Linked DNA regions of Homo sapiens: regions 1, 2, 3, 4 and 6 are each linked to region 5. The links are contacts of gene promoters, found by promoter capture Hi-C in human tissues and cell types (Jung and others, 2019). All regions are on one chromosome and are shown on one strand. The core of a region is centred on a gene start or on the middle of the fragment in contact, and the rest is flanking DNA. Distances in the headings are between cores, read along the strand shown.

What was found. Contacts are between HindIII fragments. The study calls those that stand out against the background at their distance.
Region 1: a contact is called between a fragment that was not itself captured here and the fragment with the promoter of FBXL14 in region 5, in 1 of the 25 tissues and cell types used here (dorsolateral prefrontal cortex).
Region 2: a fragment that was not itself captured here is called in contact with the fragment with the promoter of FBXL14 in region 5 in 1 of the 25 tissues and cell types used here (H1 embryonic stem cells).
Region 3: a fragment that was not itself captured here is called in contact with the fragment with the promoter of FBXL14 in region 5 in 1 of the 25 tissues and cell types used here (heart left ventricle).
Region 4: a fragment that was not itself captured here is called in contact with the fragment with the promoter of FBXL14 in region 5 in 2 of the 25 tissues and cell types used here (aorta and hippocampus).
Region 6: a fragment that was not itself captured here is called in contact with the fragment with the promoter of FBXL14 in region 5 in 2 of the 25 tissues and cell types used here (dorsolateral prefrontal cortex and lymphoblastoid cells).

The regions. Positions count from the first base shown.
Region 1 is chr12:1,288,814-1,291,513 of GRCh38, reverse strand. ERC1 (ELKS/RAB6-interacting/CAST family member 1) reads right to left here. Exons shown (of 19, transcript NM_178040.4): 15 at 1,502-1,662. Among named protein-coding and RNA genes, the nearest start is that of LINC00942, 210 kb to the left of the region's middle. The HindIII fragment of the contact is 6,117 bases long and covers 1-2,700 here.
Region 2 is chr12:1,256,651-1,259,350 of GRCh38, reverse strand. All of the region lies in intron 13 of ERC1 (ELKS/RAB6-interacting/CAST family member 1), which reads right to left. Among named protein-coding and RNA genes, the nearest start is that of LINC00942, 240 kb to the left of the region's middle. The HindIII fragment of the contact is 7,878 bases long and covers 1-2,700 here.
Region 3 is chr12:1,233,491-1,236,190 of GRCh38, reverse strand. All of the region lies in intron 12 of ERC1 (ELKS/RAB6-interacting/CAST family member 1), which reads right to left. Among named protein-coding and RNA genes, the nearest start is that of ERC1, 240 kb to the right of the region's middle. The HindIII fragment of the contact is 3,512 bases long and covers 1-2,700 here.
Region 4 is chr12:1,316,100-1,318,799 of GRCh38, reverse strand. The region is part of intron 15 of ERC1 (ELKS/RAB6-interacting/CAST family member 1); the gene reads right to left. Among named protein-coding and RNA genes, the nearest start is that of LINC00942, 180 kb to the left of the region's middle. The HindIII fragment of the contact is 5,493 bases long and covers 1-2,700 here.
Region 5 is chr12:1,593,197-1,595,896 of GRCh38, reverse strand. FBXL14 (F-box and leucine rich repeat protein 14) reads left to right here and starts at 1,316. Exons shown (of 2, transcript NM_152441.3): 1 at 1,316-2,700. The coding sequence starts at 1,831. RefSeq lists enhancers at 612-681, 2,052-2,241 and a silencer at 942-1,811. The HindIII fragment of the contact is 15,118 bases long and covers 1-2,700 here.
Region 6 is chr12:1,153,522-1,156,221 of GRCh38, reverse strand. All of the region lies in intron 8 of ERC1 (ELKS/RAB6-interacting/CAST family member 1), which reads right to left. Among named protein-coding and RNA genes, the nearest start is that of ERC1, 160 kb to the right of the region's middle. The HindIII fragment of the contact is 5,020 bases long and covers 1-2,700 here.

The DNA of each region.
Region 1 (2,700 bases), core at 171-2,670, 300 kb after region 5:
AGTTCTCTAGGTAGACTAAATCTTTTCACTTGTTCAATGATCAATAATTGAATAATTTAAACCTTTAAAATATGGTGGGTCCTGCAGTGACTACAGAGTGAAGAATCTAGTGTCATTGCCAACAGTCACAGGGAGGACTTTCCTTTCTCTACTTAAACCTGCAAGCTTTTTTCTGATGATGCTACTCGGAACTCTAACCTCTCTTAATTCTCCCCCTATGCCAATCCACTTCCGGCTTCACTTACACATTACTTCCAAGACATATCACTCATAATGCTTTTCTAAAAGGACAGAATCTCGTAGCCTTGCACTATAGCCCAAGAACGTGAAAGCACAGAGGACACCTCAACATTCTTGGGTTGCAGTCACAATATCACAATCATCATGTCCCATGAGAATTCATGCTAAGGTATTATGGCAAGATTCTGTACAGCTCTATTATTCAGGTATTCAAAGTTTACTGATAGTTCAAAGTAGCAGAAAAGTAAACTGATGTCAGTTTAAAGCACTAGTTGGAGTGAAAAAATTTTATTTTAGGCCAAAGACAGACTGTGCATTTATGCAGAGAAGAAGTGAGCAAGGGTCACGTGAGAAAGAACTGACAGTGAAAGGCTGCTGAGGCGGGGACTTGAAATCTGTGACAGAAAGAAGAATCTGGCCTTATGAAGGAGAAAAAAACCTATTCTCTGAGACAGAAAAGAAGACAACAAAAATAAAGATAACTGCTCACAGAACGAGGGTAACTGAGGGTAACTGAGGGATCCCAGGATAGACCTGGTTTCAGTAAAATAGCAGTAGGGTCTTTAGGTAAGGGGAAGGATTAGGAATGGTAAATGAGAGGGTACAACTGGATTTTCAAAAGACACATGTTTGTTTTAAACAGAAGGTCACTGAGAAGTAAAAGAAACATCTACTATGTATTAGCAGATGTATACATGCTTCACAACAGATTATGGTCTCAGCAACCTACAAAATGTGGGGGAAGCAGGAAAATGTGTATAGCAAAGCTCTGCTAAAAGTGACAATTTTCTAAAAATTGGCTTCCAGTGTGGCAAAATGGTAACTACTGAATCTTGGAGACAGGTATATGGGGGTTCATTCTCTCTACCTGTGTGTACCTTTGGAAATGTTTACAATAAAAAATGTGTTTAAAAATTGCCTAGTCTTCATACAACCTCAGAACCAACAGCCCTCTTCCCCAGTAAGCTCGCCATTTTGCCTGAACTTTCCAGAAGATTTTAGGAATTTCAGAGAGGTAATTACACACAGATATGTATAAGCCAGAGGATTTAAAAATCATTAAAGAGGAACCAAAAATATTTCTATTTGATCAGGATTTGTTCCACCTTTGACCAAATTTATTCTAGAGAGTGAGAAATACAAGTTAGCACTAAAATTAAGTAAGTGTATTGGGGTAAAACACAGAGCCAGAAGATGAATGCAGGGAGAAAAAGTATTTCCACTAAGCATATGCTTGAAGAATAAGACTACAAACACTTACTTCATCTCCAGAACTTCCTCTAAGTGTTTCCTTCTCTCTGCCCGAAGATTAGTCAAGTGAGTTTCCTTTTCTGCCAGAGACTGCTGGGTGGAGGACAGCTTTGCTTTCATGGATTCTAGTTCCTGCTTTACCTTCTCCATGGCCATCAGTAACTCCTCCACCTATCATAAATATGGGAAAGAGAACAACAGAGTGTCTTGATCAATCAGAGTCAGAGGACCTGGGTAACACGCAACTCCTGGGTCCAGAAAATTGAAGAGACGCAGGAACACATTGAAAATTCTGTACTCTTTCTGGATCAGTTATGTGTGTGTATATATCAAGAATCAATATAGCAGATAATAACATCCCTACAGTATAATTCTTTTCAGCTTAGGTCAGAAAGAACTTAATACATGCAAGGGCATACAAGTTATCAGTTTAAGAAGTCGCACGCTGCCACAGACAATACCTTTTAAGGAAGTTCTTTGGAAATGACCCAGAAATTTCCATGGAAATAATACAATACAAATATAAAAAAATATACAGAACGATTTTAGGAAATAAAAGACATAAACTTGGCAAATAACAGATTTCCTGTATACATAGACGAATAATTTTTAGTCCTCTAAACTAAAATTTTCCTATTTACATCATTAAGAAGAATTTCTTTTTAAAGAAACTGCTAGAATTCAATCAGACAATTTCTTGCTCTAAATCCAGGTAGGTAGGGTTTCTTTTTTAAGGAAGGCAGGAAGGAAATATAACCCTATATACCTATATAACTATACAGGCATATATATACCTATATACTACATAGGCAGTGTATATATATATATTATATATATACTATATATTATATAGGCAGGAAGGAAATATATCCCTATATACCTATATAGTTATGTGTGTGTGTGTGTGTGTGTGTGTGTGTGTGTGTGTGTGTGTGTGTACATACCAGATAGAAAGGAGACAGAATGCTTTAAAAATGACATGGGGAAAAAAAAAAAGCCTTGACAGCAACAGACCTGAAAAACAACAAACAAAAAGCCACCAGAGAAGACAGACAAAATGCTAAAACATAAGGAAAAGAAACTAAGAGAGCAAGGTAAGTACTTTATCAGTAATTTCCACTTATTCCAGGTGGCTACCAAATCAGAATTATTTAAATAAACTTGTTCATTTTAATTCAGAAGCAAATGTAATCAAACAGCCAACTGCAT
Region 2 (2,700 bases), core at 156-2,655, 340 kb after region 5:
GTGTAAAAACACTAATTCCTCATCATCTATGATAAGATGTCAACAGACAACGCCCAAATAAGAAAAATAATACAACAATAATATAAGAATGTCATTTGGAAAGATAAAAATAAACAACAGTAGAAACAACCAAAAGAGATGAAAGTGGTCATCTCAGAGGAAGAGGAATCAGAGTTAGAAAAGAATAAGAGAAGTGACTATTATTCTAAGACATGTAAGTATTATTTGTGTAAATAATATAAAATACATAGTTCTGATATAAAATCAAAAGAAAATTGAAAAATATGTTAAAAGAGTATCTTGCACTATGAAGAAATCAATAGGGATCTAAAGACCTTCTGGAAATAGTTACAAGTGTCATTGTTTAGATAACTGATATCTAAATATGTAAGTTAACTGTTTACTGTGAAAAGAGAAAAGCAGACCAGGCAAACACATCTTCAGGCAGTGCTCATGATCAGAAAAAAGAAAGGTAAAGAGAACAAAACATGTATGGATTATACATCATTGTGCTCTTCAGCTTTTTATTCAAAAGTCCTATGAATTTCTTCACGGCAATATTTTACAGAAGTGGGTCAGAATTATGATAAGAAATTCCTTTCAAGTCTTTTGATAACCATGGGATGTTCTAAATAACAACATTTTTTAAAAGGGACAATATTATCACAGTAAGTTCTTCCATAAATCCTGAAGATTCTGAAGATTTAAAAATCTCTAATCTGTCAATGCCAGACTTTGAGTTGAAGAAGTGACAGTTGTCACCAGCTTCCTTGAAAGTGAGTGAGCCAATAAGATGTCATATTAGACTTGAGAATCATGAAATGCAACAGACTTCACATACTTCTGCTCTGAGGACCACATCGATGAAGTAAGGGGATGTGCTAAAACCCCTGGAAAGTGCTTCCTGGTGGCCCAAGTGTAAGAGTGATTCTACCATGTGTAGCCTGAGGCTTGGAATACATGCTTTACATGCTAAAGTACATTTTCTCCTTCAAAAAGTCCATATTCACCAACCTTCATGATAAACTATGAGACAGTAAGAGCCATTCTGAGTCTGTAATGCTGAAGAAATCTACATATACTATGTACTATCCCTAATTCCTCCTATCCCTATATTCCTTAGGTTTGAAGGATCTGAAGCATCTGGAAATTAGGAAGTTGACTTACTGGAACTAAATGTAGCTAGAGATTAAGATAGGACATGCCACACTTAATTTGAGAAAATCATACCTGTTGTTTATAGGCATTCTTAATCTGCCGCTAGCTTAGAAGAAAATATTCTTCTTTAGCTAATATACTATTTGTACTGTCCAATGCAGAAGCCACTAGCAACAACTAGCTACTGGGTGATTAAACGTGGCTAGTCCAAACTGAGATGTGCTATAAACACACCTAAATTTCAAAAACTTAGTCTTAAAAAAAGGAGGTACAACACTTCTTTAATAATTTTCATATTGATTATATGTTGAAATAATATTTTGGATATATTTGATTAAAGAAAACATTATTAAAATTAATGTTTCCTTTTAGTTTTTTTAATGAGACTATTAGAAAATTCAAAATTATACGTGTGGCTCACATTGTATTTCTACTGGAGAATGTGGCACTAGTTAGAGCAGTTTTTTACATAGGAAATAAATCTATAAAAGGCTATATGACACATCATGTTTTACATACATTTGTAACTCTTTTCCCAGCTTACAGGCTGTCAGCAGACAAATATGAGTTATATAGGTAATAAACACCAACAAAAGCTCCAATGTTACCCAACCCTGATAATTACCATGGTGATAATATGAATAAAACAATTTAAAATAGCATTTATTACTCTAACAGAGAAAACCAAACTGTGGATTTAGAGGGGAAAAATCAGACTATGGTAGATCACCTTAATACTAAAAATATAAAATATCTGTAATCATTGTTCATTGTTGTATTAATGAGTTACTTCGAAACTTAGCAGCTTAAGAAAACAGTGAATACTGATTATCTCACACAGTTTGTGTGGGTCAAGAACTCAAAAGCAGCTTAGCTAAACAGTTCTGGTGCCAGGGTCTCTTATGAGGTGGTAGTCAAGATGTCAACCAGGATTCAGTCCTTTGCTTCCACTTACATGGCTGGCAAGGTGGTGCAGCTAGTGGCAAGAGGCCTCTGTTCCTCTCCACCGGGCTGCTTGAGTGTCATTACAACACGGAGGCTGGCTCTCACCAGGGCAAGTGATTCAGGAGTGCAAGGCAGTTGCATCAGTATCTTTTGTGATGTAGCTTCAGAAGCCGGCGCCATCACTTCTGCCTTCTTGTACGGTTCATACAGACCAATCCTGACAGGGTGCGGGAGAGGACTACACAAGGGCATGAACGCCAGGAGGTAAGGATGACTTGGAGTCAAACTGAAGGATGGGTATTATAGAACCTGAGGATGTAGCTCCAGTATAACAAAACTGGATTATCAATGAAGACAAAATTTCTTCTCCAAGAAAAATGCCTTTTAGGCTAACAGGACCTCAATTATAAAAACACAGCTGTTGGTATGAGACTATATTAAAATGGAACCCAAACATACCTAAAATATAAAGGCAGATATTATGGAGACTACAGAATTGAGATATGGCTCAGCATTTCACTGAATGTGAAACCAGCAAGATATGCATTATGTCAGGAATTATTCAGAATAAACTCTGCAAGTGATTTGAACTCTAAT
Region 3 (2,700 bases), core at 130-2,629, 360 kb after region 5:
ATCTCAAAATTTATGTTTAAAATCCCTTTGCTTTTATTATTGTTTTGCTACATATATATATATGAACTGTTCATTTATAGTTTACATGTTTTTGAGCTTTATAAAGATAAATAATTATTCATTTTTCTTTTTAGTACAGAATGATATTCAATATTATTCCCTTTCAATAGGTTTCGAGACTTAGACCATTCAGAGTGTAATGTATCTTTTAATCTTCTCCACTTTCACTGAGGTATGAAATAATATATGGCAATTACTTTAATCTACTCCCCAGAAGATGACAATTGCATTGTTTCCATCTTCTTGCCATTTTAAATAATGCTGCTAGGTGCACTCTGATATACCTGGGCAGGAATATCTCTAAGGTATAGGCCTAGGAACTGAATTGCTAGGAAATACAGTAGGTACACCTTATTTTATTTTATTTTCCAAGAAGCTATATTAATTTATACTCTTGCTAGCTGTGCACAACTGTTGGCCATTATACCTCTCCACATCCATTAATACATGGTACTGACTTTCTAAATGTTTCCAATAGGGTAGAAAAAAAATAGTACCTCATTATAGTTTTACAATGCATGTTTCTAACCACCTAGGCTGAATATCTTATCATACAGTATTTGGCCATTCCTGTTTCCACTTCTGTGAAATAGCTATTTGTGTCTTTCTCCACTTTTTAAATTAACATATCTTTTTCTTAATGACTTATAGGTATTCTTTATACATTATAGATAATAATACTTTATCCGTTATATGTTATGTAAGTATTTTCTTCTAGTCTATGATTTCTTTACATCTTTTCATCGATAGAATTCAATTTTATTTTTCTTCCGAGATGGGATCTCACTCAGTCGCCAAGGCTAGTGTGCAGTGGCACAATCTCCGCTCACTGCAGCCTTGACCCCCCAGGCTCAGGTGATTCTCCCACCTCAGCCTCCTGAACAGCTGGAATTACAGGCACATGCCACCACACCCAGCTAATTTGTAGTAGAGATGAGGTTTCACTATGTTGCCTATGCTGGTCTTGAACTCCTGGACTCAAGCAATCCACTGGCCTCTGCCTCCCAGTGTTGGGATTACAGGCATGAGTCACCATGTCCAGCCTAAAACTTTTAATTGTTTCAAATGTATCAATCTTCTCCTTTATAATATACAATTTTGTGACATTTCCACAAAATCTTGTCCATCAAAGTTCATAAAGATATTCCCCTAAAACGACGTTAACTTTGTCTTTCACGTTGCAGTCATTAATCCATCTGAAACCGAGGTTGCATATGTTATGAGGTAAAAACATACTTCCATTTTGGGGGGTTTGGTATAACATAATAATATTTCATTTTTTACATGTATTTATAATGAATTTTCCCAGGAATATTTACATGCATTGCCACTTCTGGTGTGTACAAAGTTTCTATATGCATGTGTACCTGTTTTGTGGCTATGTTTGTATATTTCTGTGCCAGATCTATACCACCTTAATTACTATACCTTTACAAAAAGTAATTAGCAAGGCAAGGCTCCCTACCTTTTTCTTCTTCAAAACTCTCTTGGCTGTTCTTGGCGCTTTACGCTTCTCATAGAAATTTCAGAACTAGCCCGTCAAGTTCCACCAAACCAACCAACCAACTACAGCAACAAAAAACCCAACAGCAGCCTCTGGGATTTTGATTCCAATCACATTGAAGCAATGTCAGTTTGGGAAAAACTTCATGCTTTTGGATCTTTCAATTCATTAACATACTACAGATGCTCCTCAACTTACCATTGGGCTATATCCCAATAAACCCACCATAAGTTGAAAATATCCTAAGTCCAAAATGCATTTAAAACACCTAATCTGGAAAGTAGCAGTTGTTTACTCTCCTGGTTGTGTGGCTAACTGGGATCTGTGGCTCACTGCCACTGTCCAGCATCACAAGAGAGTATCATATTACATACCAATAGCACAGGAAAAGATCAAAATTCAAAGTGTGGTTTTACTGAACGTGTATCACTTTTGCACTATCGTTAGGTTGAAAACTGGTCAGTGTGTTTATCTATTTGTTTAGGTCTCCTTAAAAGGCTAACAAAGCATTATATTTTCCTCCATAAAAAATGTGTATATATTTTATTTCTATGTACATTATACGTTTTGCCATCATTTAAAATTCCAGATATCATGTCATTATACCCTTATACATGCTTCCTGATGCATCTCCAAAAAAGAGCATGTTTAACAACGTAAATTGTAACAAAATTAACAATTCCTCAATATCAGTATAATATATAGTCCATATTCAAATTTCCCCATTTGAATCAAAGTTTATTTCTTACGGCTACTTTATTTGAATCAAAATACAAAAAACGCCCATACATTGTGCTTATTGTCAGATCCTTCAAATCCCTACTAATCTAGAGAAAAGTCTCTTACCTCCTCCAATGTACCCTTTTTGAATGCCAGTGATTTTTTTAAAAAGGAAATCAATTATTCCATACAACGACTCACATTCTGGATTGTATGTTTGCTTCTTCATGATGAAATTCAACTTGTTTCTCTATATCTCTTGCTTTTTGTTTGTTTTGATACTGAATATTAGCTTTAAAGACTTGAATATATTCAATTTTCATTTTTAGGTAAAAATAATAATTAATGGTGTTGTATAACTGACATTGCCTCACATCTGACAGCATATAATATAATGTCTGGTTTTCTTACTCTTT
Region 4 (2,700 bases), core at 121-2,620, 280 kb after region 5:
AACAGCCTTTCAATGCTCCAAAGCTTCACTTGCAACTCTGCATAAATTGCCAGTTTCTCTTGGCTCCAGAGACAGCTTCACCTGCAGGGTTTCACTTTTCTGTCTGACACCTTAATGTTGATTTTCCTACGCACTACAAAAGAGCCCTCTCCAGTGCTTCTCACACAATTACACAATCACTCTATTGTAAGTCAGAAGAGGATTAATGATTGAGTTTTATTTGATTATAGTCTTGATTAATCCTGACTTTGTTTAATTTGTGACCTTTGCTGGAATCCCAAGGGCTGGGAATTAGAAAATGCACACTGTACCACTGTACTCCGAACAGTTTGAGCTTGCCAATTTATTTCATGCCTCATTAGCCACAAAAGCTATAAAATTTTAGTCCAAAAACAGTTCCACATTTTTTCAGAGTACGGGTACAAAATTTTGTATGAGCTTTTCATTTTGATTTAAATACAGTAAGCCAATAATTAAGTCTACCCTAGTTATACCCATAGGGTTCTAATTCCAACTGGCAGGTATCTCAGCAAAATACCAAACCCCAGGCAAGTCACATCATGATGCAGCTGCCCTGATTTCCCAAGGCTCAGATTTAGTTTTTGTGAAGGGCAGAAAAAATAAAATCTGCTTTTAAAAAATCCTCCCAAATTACAATATTCCTTGATAAACAAATCTTAAAATAGATATCACATCATGGAAATTTTAGTTCTAACTTGAAAGCTCATATATACTTATTTACTATTTGAGAATAGTATTTGTAAATTTTTAGTTATTTACTATTTCAGGATTAGGTCTTTTAAAACATTTTTATAAATAATTTACAATATACACATGCTACATAAAATATTTACCTTTTAGAGTTCCCAGAATCAGCAAATTATTTATGAGAAACTATAGAAGAAGCCCCTTTATGTGACACTCAAGTCTGCTAGGTGATTAACTAAAATATTTCTTAAAGAATAAAGAAAGTATATAGAGAGTGTTTTGCTGCTTTGAAGCTGCTTTGCTGGTTTTTCATTTAGACGAGATCCAAAGATCACCATATAATCTGATGACTTAGGTTCAGTATTGTCTTTTTCACATCCTTTTCAGCTCTGGTTGTGTGAAAGTGGGGCTAGTCAGTATGCAGACATTTGAAATACAATGCCAATTTCAAACTGTGAGGTTTCAAAAAGTCTCCCAATATTCAGTAACTGTTAACCTAATTCAACAGCAGCAATTTTTTTTTGGATTTACTTTTTTTAAAATTATACTTTAAGTTCTGGGATACACGTGCAGAACGTGCAGGTTTGTTACATAGGTATACATGTGCCATGGTGGTTTGCTGCACCCATCAACCCATCATCTACATTAGGTATTTCTCCTAATGCTATCCCTTTCCTAGCCCCTGATCCCCCGACAGGCCGTGTGTGATGTTCCCCTCCCTGTGTCCATGTGTTCTCACGGTTCAGCTCCCACTTATGAGTGAGAACATGCGGTGTTTGGTTTTCTGTTCCTGTGTTAGTTTGCTGAGAATGATGGTTTCCAGCTTCATCCATGTCCCTGCAAAGGACATGAACTCATCCTTTTTTATGGCTGCATAGTATTCCATGGTGTATATGTTACACATTTTCTTTTTTTTTTTTTTTCGTTTTTGAGACAGAGTTTCTCTCTTGTTGCCCAGGGTGGAGTGCAATGGCATGACCTCGGCTCACTGCAACCTCTGCCTCCTGGATTCAAGCGATTCTCCTGTCTCAGCCTCCTGAGTAGCTGGGATTACAGGTGCCTGCCACTACACCCAGCTAATTTTTGGTATTTTTAGTAGAGATGGGGTTTCACCATGTTGGCCAGGCTGGTCTTGAACTCCTGACCTCAGGTGATCCACCCGCCTCGGCCTCCCAAAGTGCTGGGATTACAGGCATGAGCCGCCATGCCTGGCCACGTGCCACATTTTCTTTATCCAGTCTATCATTGATGGGCATTTGGTTTGGTTCCAAGTCTTTGCTATTGTGAACAGTGCTGCAATAAACATACGTGTGCATGTGTCTTTATAGCAGCATGATTTATAATCCTTTGGGTATATATCCAGTAATGGGATTGCTGGGTCAAATGGTATTTCTGGTTCTAGATCCTTGAGGAATCGCCACAGTGTCTTCCACAATGGTTGAACTAATTTACACTCCCACCAACAGTATAAAAGCGTTCCTATTTTTCCAAATCCTCTCCCGCATTAACAACAGCAATTTTGAAATGACTTACCTGCATCCCTTTTCCAAAACATTTTGCTTTATTTCACAGAGATATTTTTTCATATGAGTATGTCATTGGTTTCTTATAATAATAAAAATATATAATTAAAATATCAAGAATAGCTGGAATAAATAACTTTTCAGCAATAATACAACTAAACAGGTTAACAGAGCCATGCCTGGTATATGTGACAGTAATCTAGTAGCTTTTTCAGCATGCTCTGAGCAAAAATTGGCATGGTTAACAGAGAAAAGAAAGTCTCAACCTGACAAGTAGTTATGAATTAAGTGGAAGGTGGTTTAAAAAGCTTCTCATATATTTAATAGTGTTCACTGCTCAGTTAGCCTAAAAGTGCCCATTAGCTATAAAAAGATGTTTACCAGCCGGGCGCGGTGGCTCAAGCCAGTAATCCCAGCACTTTGGGAGGCCGAGGCGGGTGGATCACGAGGTCAGGAGATCAAGACCATC
Region 5 (2,700 bases), core at 67-2,566:
CCATAAATTAAAATACAGAGGATCATTTTCTCTGATCCAAAAATTCTTGGTTTGGGGGTAGTTAAAATGAAACTTCTGAAATTCTATCCTTAGTACGGACATTTAGGACCCAGGGGCTACATCCTAGAATGGAATTGTGCCCTGCTTCCATAAAACGGTTGATAAACCAACAGACACGACTGGATTGTCTTAAACCAAGTTCAACTGTCATTCCATTTTAATCAAAAAGTAAATTGGATTCAGCATATACGAATATATTGACTATCAGTACAACTGAGCCATACAACTGATAGTCTAAGGCTGATGACAAGGAGAAAGCTCCTAAAACAAGGCTTAGGGGAAGGCTGTTCCCCTGTAAGCAAAGCGGACTGAGGGCATTGGTGGCGCAGCAGCGTTCAGAAGTAGAGGGAAGTTTTGATGTATCAAGTACCGAGGGAAACACACACAGCGTGTCTGGAAACCATCAGAAGATGCTAGAAGGAAGTAGTCATGGATAATTCTAGAAATTTCTAGAACACCGACTGGAGGGGGTCATTGTTTAAGATGAGTACAGCCGAGTTTCTCTCCAATTTAAGACACAAGACTGGAGAGAAAGGCGTCGTAGTAAACAGCCCCAACCGGGGGAGCAGGGGGTGTGATAATGAGGCGTTAAGGGGCATTAGGGACAGTAAGAAAAGGAGAGTTGGGGTGACGATTATTGAGCACTGCTATAGGAGGCGGCTCTCGCAGGGATAATCAAGGGAGAGGGGTGTGAAATAAGGGTAACGAATTGCAGGGGTAAACTGTGGGAAGGGGCTGCGCAGACTTCAACAGCAAAGAAAAAGAAGGAACGGGGCTGGGGCGTGGCCCAGAGAGGGAACGGCTCAATAACGGGCTACCGGGTGAAAAGAAGCCGGGTGGGGAGGCGCTCTGCTGACAGCTGCCGCTCCCCCGTGGCGCCCACAGGGTTAAAAATCAGGGGCCACGGGACCAGGCCGAACTCGGTTTCCAGGGCAACGGCTCCACAGTTCCGGCAGCGCAGGCCCGTACCATTGCGCGGGCGCGGGGGAGCGGGAGCGGCGGAGGGGACGCGCTGCAGGGCGGCGGAGCCGGGGCCGGCCCGGGCGCTACCAAACGCACGGCCCGCCTGCTCGCCCGGGGTCTGCGCCGAGCCGCGCTCCGGCCGGACGGCCGCGGCGTCCTTGGTGCGGGGGCCGGCAGCTCCCAAGTGGCCGCGGACGGCGGGGGAGAAGGAACGCACGCCGCCGGCCGGGATTGGCCTCCTGGTCCCCCCGCCTGGGCGGCGGAGTGCGGGCGGCCCGGGGCTGGGAGGTTTGAAAAGCGGGCGAGAGACAAAGGCAGCAGGAAGCCTCCTCCGCGCCCGGAGCCCGTGCGCCCGGCCCCCGGGGCCCCCTCGCCGCCCGCCGGCCCGCGGAGCAGCGGCGGCGGCAGGAGGCGGAGGATGCGGCAGGGGGCGTGGGCGCGGCGGCGCGGGCGGAGCGGCGCGGCCCGGGCGCGGCGTGGGTAGAGCCGAGGCGGCGGCGGCGGCCGGCCTCCGGGAGCGAGAGCGAGGCGCCTTCCCCGCCCGGGATGTGAGCGCCGTGCGGAGCCCGGGGCGGGGGAGGGCCGGGCCGGAGGCGCAGCCGGCAGGAAGGAAGGACGGACGGACCAGGAGGAGGAGCGGCGGCGGCGGCCGGAGCCGGAAGGCGGGGAGGGGCCGGCCGTTGGGCCCGAGGCGGCGGCGGCGGCGGCGGCGGCGGCTGGGGAGAAGCGCTCTCGTCGCCTGCCCGAGGCCGGAGCGGCGGGGCCCGCGCCTCCTCCCCCCAGCGCCGCGGAGGGGGGAGGAGGAAGATGGAGACCCACATCTCATGCCTGTTCCCGGAGCTGCTGGCCATGATCTTCGGCTACCTGGACGTCCGGGACAAGGGGCGCGCGGCGCAGGTGTGCACCGCCTGGCGGGACGCCGCCTACCACAAGTCGGTGTGGCGGGGGGTGGAGGCCAAGCTGCACCTGCGCCGGGCCAACCCGTCGCTGTTCCCCAGCCTGCAGGCCCGGGGCATCCGCCGGGTGCAGATCCTGAGCCTCCGCCGCAGCCTCAGCTACGTGATCCAGGGCATGGCCAACATCGAGAGCCTCAACCTCAGCGGCTGCTACAACCTCACCGACAACGGGCTGGGCCACGCGTTTGTGCAGGAGATCGGCTCCCTGCGCGCTCTCAACCTGAGCCTCTGCAAGCAGATCACTGACAGCAGCCTGGGCCGCATAGCCCAGTACCTCAAGGGCCTGGAGGTGCTGGAGCTGGGAGGTTGCAGCAACATCACCAACACTGGCCTTCTGCTCATCGCCTGGGGTCTGCAGCGCCTCAAGAGCCTTAACCTCCGCAGCTGCCGCCACCTTTCGGATGTGGGCATCGGGCACCTGGCCGGCATGACGCGCAGCGCGGCGGAGGGCTGCCTGGGCCTGGAGCAGCTCACGCTACAGGACTGCCAGAAGCTCACAGATCTTTCTCTAAAGCACATCTCCCGAGGGCTGACGGGCCTGAGGCTCCTCAACCTCAGCTTCTGTGGGGGAATCTCGGACGCTGGCCTCCTGCACCTGTCGCACATGGGCAGCCTGCGCAGCCTCAACCTGCGCTCCTGTGACAACATCAGTGACACGGGCATCATGCATCTGGCCATGGGCAGCCTGCGCCTCTCGGGGCTGGATGTTTCGTTCTGTGAC
Region 6 (2,700 bases), core at 27-2,526, 440 kb after region 5:
CCCCTATCTTCATCTACCTGTAAATCTTAGGTTAAATTTAGTTAAATTATGGTAGAAGTATGATTCAGAAAACCATGTAGATATTTTTTAAGATGAGATAAAGCTGTATATAAGATGATATTAAAATGTTTATTTTTAAATTAATAAAAAGTATGATTCCAGTTGTTTTTTAAAAGGTATATAACACATAAATGCTTGATATGCATAGAAACTTTATGAAACGGCACACAAAGAACTGTTAACAACAGTTAATAACCCTAAAGAACTGCACTGAGAGGAGCAAAGGATGGGAGAAGGAACTTTAATTTCACTCCATATGTTTTGGTAATTTTTATTTTTATTTATTTATTTTTTTTTTACCTTGAACACATATTACTCTCATACTGTTAATACAAGTCATTTTTTAAATCCTACATTGTCATTTCTCAGGGCTTTTAAAAAAATACTTATCAGCAGGGCGCGGTGGCTCACGCCTGTAATCCCAGCACTTTGGGAGGCTGAGGCAGGCAGATCACGAGGTCAGGAAATCGAGACCACCTAACATGGTGAAACCCCGTCTCTACTAAAAATACAAAAAATTAGCCGGGCGTGGTGGCACGTGCCTGTGGTCCCAGCTACTCAGGAAGCTGAGGCAGGAGAATGGTGTGAACCCAGGGAGGTGGAGCTTGCAGTGAGCCGAGATGGCGCCACTGCAATCCAGCCTGGGCGACAGAGCGAGACTCCGTCTCAAAAAAAAAAAAGGAAAGTTTAATTTTCTTTATCCATTCATTGGTTGATGGGCACTTAGGTTGATTCCATATCATAGATGTCTTTTTTTTCAGAATGACTTCTTTTCCTTTGGGTAGACTCCTAGTAGTGGGACTGCTGGATGAAATGATAAATCTTTTTTTTTTTTTTTTTTTTTTTTGAGATGAAGTCTCGCCCTGTGAGTGCAGTGGCACGATCCAGGCTCACTGCAACCTCTGCCTCCCAGGTCCAAGCAATTCTCGTGTCTCAGCCTCCCAAGTAGCTGAGACTACAGGCACGTACCAATATGCCCATCAGATTTTTTTATTTTTAGTAGATATGGGGTTTCGCCACGTTGGCCATGTTGCCAGGTTTGTCTTGAACTCCTGACCACAGGTGATCCATCTGCCTCGGCCTCCCTAAGTGCTGGGACTACAGGTGTGAGCCACTACGCCCAGCCTGAAATGATAAATGTACTTTTAGTTCTTTGAAAAATATCCATACAGTTTTCCATAAAGGTTGTACTAATTTACGTTTGCTCCAACAGTGTGTAAGAGTTCTCTTTTCACCACATCCATGATACCAGCTATTATTTTTTAACTTTTTAATAATAGCCCTTCTGGATGGGGTAGGGTGGTATCTCACTGTCATTTTAATTTGCATTTCCCTGATGATTAGTGATGCTGAGCATTTTTTCATACATTTTTGGGCATTTGTATATCTTCTTTTGAGAAATGTCTATTCATGCTATTTGCCCATTTTTTATGGGATTATTTTTTTTTCTTGTTGATTTAAGTTCCTTGTAGACTGTGGATATTAATATTTTGTTGAATATGATGCAAATATTTTCTCCCATTCTGTAGGTGGTCTATTTACTCTTTTGATTATTTATTTTGCTGTACAGAAGCTTTTTAGTTTAATTAAGTCCATTAAGTCCCATTTATTCATTTTTATTTTGTTGTGCTTTTGAGATCCTTGTCATAAATCCTTCGCCTGAGCCAATGTTCAGAGGAGTTTTCCCTGTGTTATCTTCCAGAATTTTTATGGTTTCGGGTCTTAGATTAAGTCTTTAATCCACCTAGGTTAATTTTTGTATATGGCAAGAGACAGAAAGTGTGTGTGTGTGTGTGTGTGTGTGTGTATAAACACACATGGGTATGTGTGTATATATATATACACACACACATATATATGCACGTGTGTGTGTATATATACATGTATATGTGTATATATACACATATACATATACATATACATATACATATACATATACATATACATACACACACACACCATGGAATACTACTCGGCCATGAAAAAAAGAATGAAATCATGTCTTTTGCAGCAACCTGGATGGAACTGGAGGCCATCATCCTAAGTGAAGTAACTCAGGAATGGAAAACCAAATACTGCATGTTCTCACTCATAAGAGGGAGGCAGTGCTGAGTACCCAAAGGCATACAGAGTGGTATAACGGACACTAGAGACTCAGAGCAGGGGGAGGCAGGCAGGGGAGAAATGAAAAATTACCTATTGAATACAATGTACATTATTCAGGTACACTTGGGAACTTCCCAAACTACTCCAAACGAATAAAGTTATTAATTAACAAAAAAAGAAATGGAGTATCCCAAAAGTGCAGGAAGGGAAAGGGCCAGGGGAAGGCGCAGGGCTGGGGCCTGTGATTATGTAGGCCAAAATCCGACCATGTGAAGAAAGGAGGGCCCAGGAGGGCAAGCCCAGCATTCCACACGCACGGCCAGGGAGGGGCTTCGAACACCTGCCCCGCTTGGCAAACTCACAGTGATCCGTTTGTTTTCCCTTCTCCGAGTTCATGCATTCTTCAAGCTTTGGTAACTGGAATGTTTGTCTTTTCAGGCTCAAAAACAGTCAGTAGAAAAGGAACCAAAATTAAGTACCAATCATATGTCAGGATTCACCTAGGAAAACTGTGAGCTGTTGACTGGACTGCTT